Linked DNA regions of Homo sapiens: region 1 is linked to region 2. Evidence: promoter capture Hi-C in human tissues and cell types (Jung and others, 2019). All regions are on one chromosome and are shown on one strand. The core of a region is centred on a gene start or on the middle of the fragment in contact, and the rest is flanking DNA. Distances in the headings are between cores, read along the strand shown. Region 1 holds the start of LINC01671 (long intergenic non-protein coding RNA 1671). Region 2 holds the start of PDE9A (phosphodiesterase 9A).

Region 1 (4,006 bases), core at 543-3,042, 40 kb after region 2:
TGTGGTATGTGGTGTGTGTATGTGGTGTGTGGTGTGTGATGTGTGTGTAGTGTGTGTGTGGTGTGTGATGTATGTGTGGTGTGTGTGTGTACTGCGTGTGACTACGTGCAGCCCCAAGCCCCGAGGCGCATCTGATGGGGCAGGAACGGGCTGCAGGTTGCCTTGCTCGGCTCTGCTCCCAGCGTCCTCCATGTTCTGAGCCACTCATTAATCAGCTTCCTCATCTGAAATTGCGAAATCCCCTAAAGCTCAGGTCCTGTGACAACAGGTACGGGCCAGCATTGGGACAGGCTTTGCCTGTAAGAGGGCTGGTCTGGGGGGACATCTGAACCCAATTCAGGAACACCTCACAGGTCTGCCAGCAGGGCTAGACCCGGGGTGAGATCCAGGGCAACAGGGTCTGCCTGGGAAGCTCAGCTCCGGCACTGCCTGGGGCGTCTCTGCCTACACAGGACCATTCCTCTCGCCTGGACTCCTCTTGGAGTTTGCCAAGGTATGTTCAGAAACCGAGACATCAGGGAGTTGACTGCCCAGACCAGCAGTGGGATGTAAAAGTGTTACTTTGTCCCAGAGAAGTCCTCTCTGGAAAAAAAATGTATTCCGAAGTTTGGGTGTGTGAAAATAGCCCTGTGGTGAGTGTGGTTTTCCACTAAAGATGCTTTGATCAGACAAACTCTGTCAACCACGGGAGGGGGTTATGCAGACACACAGATAATACCCTAGCCCAGCGTGGCCCGCTGTACTGGGAACCAGGGCCCTGGATGAGCAGCCAGACCGGAAAGCCTCATTTTCTTCACCTGTAAAATAGAAAACCCCACGTTGACTGTCCTAGGTGGTTGCCAGGATCCAGCTTGGCTAACGACAAAGACCTGTGCGGCTCTGCGGTGTGTTAAGAATCCTTTACCTTCTTATATAGTAGCCTCCTCTTTGTGGTTGCAACAACCTAGGAAGGTTTTCTGTTTTATAAAAAAATTGAGTGCAATGAAATCATCTGTTAAAGTCAAATGTAGGCGGCTTAACCCTGCACCCTGCCAGGAATGAAAACTTGAATGCAATTTATTTTTAAACTGATGATTTAAAGAACAGAAAAAAAGCAGCAACGTTGTAGCCTATAAAAATATTTTATTTATCTGAGGCAAAAATCTTAAAAATATGAGTCCAGAGACTCCTAGGGTTATGGATGCCTAGTTCCTAAATTCTCATAAATCCTCATAAATCCAGTAAGTCCCAGGAGCCTCAGGGCAGCCCCCAAGTGCCCCTATCCCATCTCCTCTGTCAGTTGTGGCTCCTTAATACCACATGGACACCCCCAGAACCACTGGAAGTAAATCCCTGGCCCTGGCGCTGAGAGAATCCTGGGATTTGGAGGGAGAGGGGCTGGAAAGGCAGGACCCCGCTGAGGGAGGCGGCAGTGGAAGTGCCCTCTCCTCAATGACCTTCTCTCTAACTGTTGCCTCCACATCGGTTCCCCAACTTTGCCTTCAGGCTTCCTCTCTGCTCTGTTTCCTTGCCCGAAATGATCAATTCACTTGTTACACCTGTTATAAGAAGAGTCACTTTGAAAACTAAGACAAACTGGCAGGGGATTAGTATGAGTTTGCAGTTTCTTCCCTCCCTCAACTCTGAACGGAGGTGGCCAGCAAGGAGAGAATTTGAGGTTTTATTATTGGAGGGAACGGTTGGATTTGGGAGCATGGGGCACTTTGAGCAGGGAGGACAGGGTGGATGGGGACCCTTCATTGGGTCCCGAGCACCTCAGGAAGGCCCAGGGCACCTGGAGAGTTTGGAATAAGGGAAGCAGTGTGCTCAGAATGCAGAGAGGTGGGTGATGTGGTTTGGCTCTGTGTCCCTACCCAAATCCATGTTGAATTATAATTCTCCAGTGTTGGAGGTGGGGCCTGGTGGGAGGTGACTGGATCATGGCGTGGTTTCTAATAGTTTAGTACCATCCCCCGGTGCTGTCTCTTGATAGAGTTCTTCCAAGACCTGGTTGTTTAAAAGTGCCTAGCACGACCAGCCCCCAACTTCATTCTCTTCCTCCTGCTCTGCCACGTGAAGAAGGTGCTTGCTTCCCCTTCACTCTTCTGCCATAATTGTAAGTTTCCTGCGGCGCTCCCAGCCATGCTTCCTATACAGCCTGCAGAACTATGAGTCAATTCAACTGCTTTTTTTCATAAATTACCCAGTCTCAGGTAGTTCTTTATAGCAGTGTAAGAACAGACTAATACAGCGGGCACATGCCAACCCCAGGGAAGGCCTGTCTGACATTTTCTCCTGGGGTCCTTCATGCGTGAGGGCCCTAGCATGAGAGGGGGCACATTTCTTTCTCCTGTAGTTCTCTTTCTATCTGTACCTGCTGCTTCCATAACACAGAATTTGGGCCACTGCTGTAGCCTCCGTAGCTCAGCCCCATGAGGGGTTCCTGTGGGTTGGCCTGTCAGGCATGGAAACATGCATTCTGAACTCTAGACAACCCGTGGACTCAGAATCTTTGGAATGCATCATATTCAGACTTTTTGGTTAGTCTGTGCTCAAGCATCCAAACTTTTTAAAAAGTTTGACCAAATTGTTTTTTCCCACTTGTATTCAAGAGTATAGAACAGCATAACCAGGCTGTCAAAGTGAGAAAATACGAAGCTATGATGTATTGGTGTCAGAAGAAGATGAGCTATTTTTAAATTTCTACTGAGCATGACAGTATAAAGCTTCTCTTTCTAGTAATGGTGAACTAAGCAATATGGACCAACCTTCTTTTGGCAGATAGCCAGAAACTTTTGAACAAAATACTTAAAAAAAAAAAATACTTGAATACTGATGGGCTAGTGAGATAGCAAAAAACTACTGGGCCAACATGAGGAAGAAGATAAAAATTCAGGCAAATGAACCCAGCATTTGGGGCAATTTTTCCTTGGGAGTGTTTTTTTAGTCATGGAAGAGATGGTTAAGAGGTGGAGCCATATGTTTTTGCCATTCTGTAGGAATAAAGGACAAAATTTAGCATCTGAGACACTCCAATTTTGAGGGTGGGGGTCTTAGCAACCCTTCTTCTTCACATTAGGACTTTGAAGAATTACATCTAAGGAAAAAAAAAAAGCCGGAAATAGACAAATCATTTCAATAACTTTATTTCAGTTTTTAGATATCTCGAGGGTCCAGAAAAATCTCAATTTCTAAAATTAGATTAAGATGATTCCAGATTGTGAATATACCCAGTTGCTTGGTAGTTACAAAAAATTTGCAGAGAAAGAGTGTATCAGCAGATTGTGTCCACAAAATGTATTTTTTTTTCCAAATACAATGTCTAGCACACAATCTAAAATAAGCAAACACACAAAAAGAAAAGACAGTGTGGACAAGAATCCACAGAAACGAGGACAATAAAATTCAACCATCATGGGCTCCAGATACTGAAATTAACCAGGTAAAGCTTTTCTTTTTATTTTATTTTAATTTTTTTTGAGGCAGAGTCTCACTTTGTCACCCATGCTGGAGTGCAGTGGGGTGATCTCGGCTCACTGCAACTTTTGACCCCAGGGTTCAAGTGATTCTCCTGCTTCAGCCTCCCAAGTAGGTGGGATTACAAGTACATGCCACCATGCCCGGCTAATTTTCATATTTTTACTAGAGATGGGGTTTTGCCATGTTGGCCAGGCTGGTCTTGAACTCCTGACCTCAGGAGTTCCTGACCTGAACTTGAGACCGCCTGCCTTGGCCTCCCAAAGTGCTGGGATTACAGGCATGAGCCACTGTGCCCAGCCAACCAGGTAAAGCTTTTAAATAGGTAAGACCGTTAAACTATTTTAGAAAGACATGACAGATTTGAAAAAGTTCATATACAAATTTAAGAACTGCAATATATAATTTTGAAATTAAGAACTCAATGGATGGGTTTAACAGAACATTGGGCCAGCTAATAAGAAAATTAGTGAACTTGAAAATGGATAAAAGAAATTATCCAGGCCTGGCACGGTGGCTCACACCTGTAATCCCAGCACTTTGGGAGGCC
Region 2 (3,783 bases), core at 1-2,500:
AAGCGGGCTACGGTGGGAGAGGGCTGTACTTTCCATTTCACGGGGATCAAGCCGGGCACAGGGTGAGGGAGGCTTGTTGGCTTAAATCTACTGATTAAACTGGCCAAATGCACCTCTGGGAACAGGAAAGACTCAAGCCTGGCCGGCACCTGCTCTGTGCCTGGCTGGGGCATCTCTCCCTGGCCTCCTTCAGTGGAGTACTCCGTGGGCAGAAAGGTGAGAAGCAGCTGCAAGGGCTTCCTGAAACGCCCAGCTGAGGTTTGAGGGATTTCCTCACAATGGCTTTTCCCTGGGGACTTTAGGGGGAGCTCATGAGAGCCCCTTCCAAGCCGGCGCGCTCATTGTCCCTCCCTGCCCGTCAGAGGGGGCCACGAACAAAGGGGGTCTATTCTGAACCCCTCTCCCGTGTAACTCAAGTCCGCTAGGAACGCTGGACATTCGAGGGACTTCCTATCTCCGCACAGCAGGGGAGAGCCGGACCCGCTGCCCCCCAGGCTCTCCGCGGGGCCCCGGAGGTGCAGCGGCCCGAGTCCCCCTCTGCAGTCGGAGCTACTCACCTGCGGGGGAGCAGTGTCCCCGCCGGCGCCCCCCGCACCTGCCCCCGCGCGACAGGAAGCGGCGGCTGCTCGCCCCCTCCGCGGACCACGACCCCGGGGCTGCCCGGCGGGCCGATCCACCGGAAATTAAAGGCTTCATGTGCCAGCCCTTGAATGTAAAAACTCAGCCTAATCAGATTTTCAAAAAGAAAAGCTCTGCCTGTGAAACGGAAACACTAGCCCGCCCCCCCACCCCCCACCCCCCAGGGCGAGTCGCCCCTTTCCCCGGGGAGCCGGCGCGTGGGGACCCCCGCCCCCGACCAGAGCTGGCGGAGCGCACGGAGGCCGCAGCCTGGACCGGCAGACGCACGGACAGTCCCGCCCCGCCGCGCCCGGCCCCGGCGCTGTCACCCGGGGGGAGGAGGGGGTGTCTGGGTGGGGGAGGGGCTACCTTCTGAATGCGTCCATCGATGTCCAGGTAGATGGCCTTGGGCCGGTAGCTGGAGGAGCCGGATCCCATCCTGCGCCCGGCGGCTGCACTCGGACTTTTTACTGTACTTTCCCGACGCCAGCCGCCGCGGGAGGCGGGGGAGGGGAGCAGGGGAGGGGGCGGGCGGGGGGCGGCCCGCGGCGCTCAGCCAACCACAGCCGCGCCGCCACCGGGCCCGGGACGCCCGGGAGCCGCCGCCGCGCGCCGCAGGGTCTCCTCCGCTCGGCTCGCGCTCGGGCTCGGGCTCCGACTCCGGCTCGCGCGCTCCTCCTCCCGGCCGCCCGCCCGCCCCTCCCCCTCCCCCCTCCCCCCTCCCTCCCCCGTCTCTCCTCTCTCCCCTCCTCTTCACTCCCTGCACCTCCCTTCCCCCTCTTTCTTCTTCCCTTGACTCCAGCCCCCGGTCGGCTGCCTATCTCCCGATGCCCCCTGGACAGCTGTGCAGAGCCCTGAGCGACCCCTTCGGCCCGGAGCCGTCGCCTCCCCACGCAGCCCGTCCCTCCTAAGCCAGCGCTGGGCTGAGCGTGGCCGCGCCGCTGTGGACCCCCCAGCCCCGCCGGGAAAACTCCCCTCGCTCCTCTCTCCCTGCTGCGACCGCCACCCTCATTTCATTTGAATAGAAAACGGGAAAAGTTCCTTCTCGGTCACCCACAGCCTTCCCCTAACTAGGGGGCGTCAGCCTCCTCCAGCTGCGCCCGGAGCTGAAATGGCGATTTTATTTCTGTCCTGTATGGGGCCGGACCGAGGATTACCCCGCCACAAGCTATCTGCTGGATTCAGCAGTTTCGTCCCCTCCCCGCTTGTGTGAATTGCTACAGGGAGTGTGGGAAAGGCGGGAGGGGAAGGGGGCTGTGGGCATCCTCTGGATCTGCGGAGCAGGGAAGGGCTGCCTTGGCCGCCCCCAGTTCTCCTGGGCTCCTCCATTGGGAATGGGGTTGGCGGCTGGGGGAGGAGGCTCAGATGCCGTGGTCCTGGCCCTGGGTGCAGGTCGCCTTTGGAAGCAAGTGTCAAAGCCAGCCGGAGCATGTGCTATTGTTTCGTTGGAAGTGAGTTCCAAGCCACCGCTTTCCATCTGTTAAGTGTCTGGGTGCTGCTTATTGAGAGAGTCTGGTGCACCCAGGCTCCTCCCTCCCCTTCGGGCCTGCTGGAGCCGGCCAGCCAGTGCCAGGGCCAGTGGTCACTTCCTCTCCCTCCCCTGGCCAGCCTGGTCTCCACCTGGTGGACGGTCACAGGCTTTACAGACACCCCCAGGGCCATCTGGAGCTCTGGTGGCAGCTGGGGTCCTGGGGAAGGTGAGAGCTCCTTGCCTGTCCGTGGGGGTGGCATCATCCTGTGAGGTAAGTGATCGTCCTCAGCCTTTGGCCAGTCCATCCTGTGTCACTTTATGTCCCCCCACCTGCTCTCATGGCGGGGGGCACGCTCTCAAATAACAACGGCTTGGAACTCGGTACCTTGGCACCCCCTGCCCACAGCTCCAGTGGAGTCCGTGTCAGAGCTTTGGCACCATGAGTTGTGCTTTTCAAGTGACAGGATGAGAAGGGGACAGCCTGGAGGCCTTTGGGGTGGGGAGACCCAGCTGGGTGGTTACAGCGGGCCAGCTGACTCGCCATGGGGATACTGTGTCCCCGGCTCATTGAAGTGAGCACTATTACTAGTAGTTCAATTTGTTGTCAAATGTTCCGATGCTATTTGGGCTAATCCAGAGATCGTGCTGTTGGGACCGCCTGTGCTGCCTGGCATGGAGTTCTTACCAGCAGATGGCTCATTGGCTTGGCACTTAGTTATTCTCCATCCCTTATTGTCATCTGGCCTAGTCTTCTGTAACCATTTCCTCCAAGAGCCCCAGAAGGACGAGTGCCCGCCCATGGGGGGTGGTTCTGCAGGGCAGTTCCCCAGGAGGGTGGAGGGTGTGGCTCTGAGACTCTGTGTGCGTCCAGCACCAGTGCAGGCTGGCCCCTCACACTGCCTGGCTGATTCTGTGCTCAGGAGAATAATCGCATCTATAATTACTTTGCACTTTTAGGAGCTGGACTGGACCCCTGTGTAGATACTGGATCGATGAGGCCTCAGCAGCTGCCTAGAGAGGAACCCTTTCCTCTCCCAGATCCCCATGGAGCAGTGCGGTCTTCCATTCGTCAACAATCTCATTACTGCGTGTTGGGTGCTGTTCTGGGCACTGGGAATTCAGTAGTGAACAGAATAAGCAGAGATCCCTGGCCTGAAGAAGCTGGCATTCTCTGGGGAAGACAGACACGATGGTATAAATAAATAGAATGTGTAGGGTGTTGGATAAAAATTAAGGCAAAGAAGAAAAATCCATAGTGAGACCCCATCTCTAAAAAAGAAAAATCCTGCGGGGAAGGGGATATAGAATGTGCAGTGTGAGGGAATGTGCAGTGTGAGGGAGTTGGAATTTTAGAGAAAGTGGCCAGGCAAAAGGTCACATAGGAGGAGGGATCTTACAGGTGTTAGGAGCAAGGAGCCTGTGTGTGTCAGAGGGAAGGACGTTCTGGCACAGAAGCAGCCTTATGCAGGAGGCCACGTGGCCAGAGCGGAGGGAGGGAGTGGGCTGTGGGGGACCGTAGTGGGCTGTGAGGTCAGAGAGGTGACGGGGGCAACCCCGCGTGGTCACACGAGTGACTTGAGGTCACTCTTCCTCCACTGCATGCCTTGCAGGAGGCGGTGCAGAGGGCCATGGTCTGACGTGGGTTTTCACAGGATCCTCTTGGATGCTGGAGGAGGGTGCATGGAAGGGGCCAG

Evidence for each region. Contacts are between HindIII fragments. The study calls those that stand out against the background at their distance.
Region 1: a contact is called between a fragment that was not itself captured here and the fragment with the promoter of PDE9A in region 2, in 4 of the 25 tissues and cell types used here (IMR-90 fibroblasts, aorta, dorsolateral prefrontal cortex and 1 more).

Annotation. Positions count from the first base shown.
Region 1 is chr21:42,611,340-42,615,345 of GRCh38, reverse strand. LINC01671 (long intergenic non-protein coding RNA 1671) reads left to right here and starts at 251. Exons shown (of 2, transcript NR_131192.1): 1 at 251-493. The HindIII fragment of the contact is 3,614 bases long and covers 1-3,599 here.
Region 2 is chr21:42,651,088-42,654,870 of GRCh38, reverse strand. It overlaps PDE9A (phosphodiesterase 9A), which reads right to left and starts at 1,250. Exons shown (of 20, transcript NM_002606.3): 1 at 988-1,250. The coding sequence starts at 1,056. It overlaps LOC101928255 (a long non-coding RNA gene), which reads left to right and starts at 1,213. Exons shown (of 3, transcript XR_244322.4): 1 at 1,213-3,281. RefSeq lists an enhancer at 1,565-2,286. The HindIII fragment of the contact is 36,096 bases long and covers 1-3,783 here.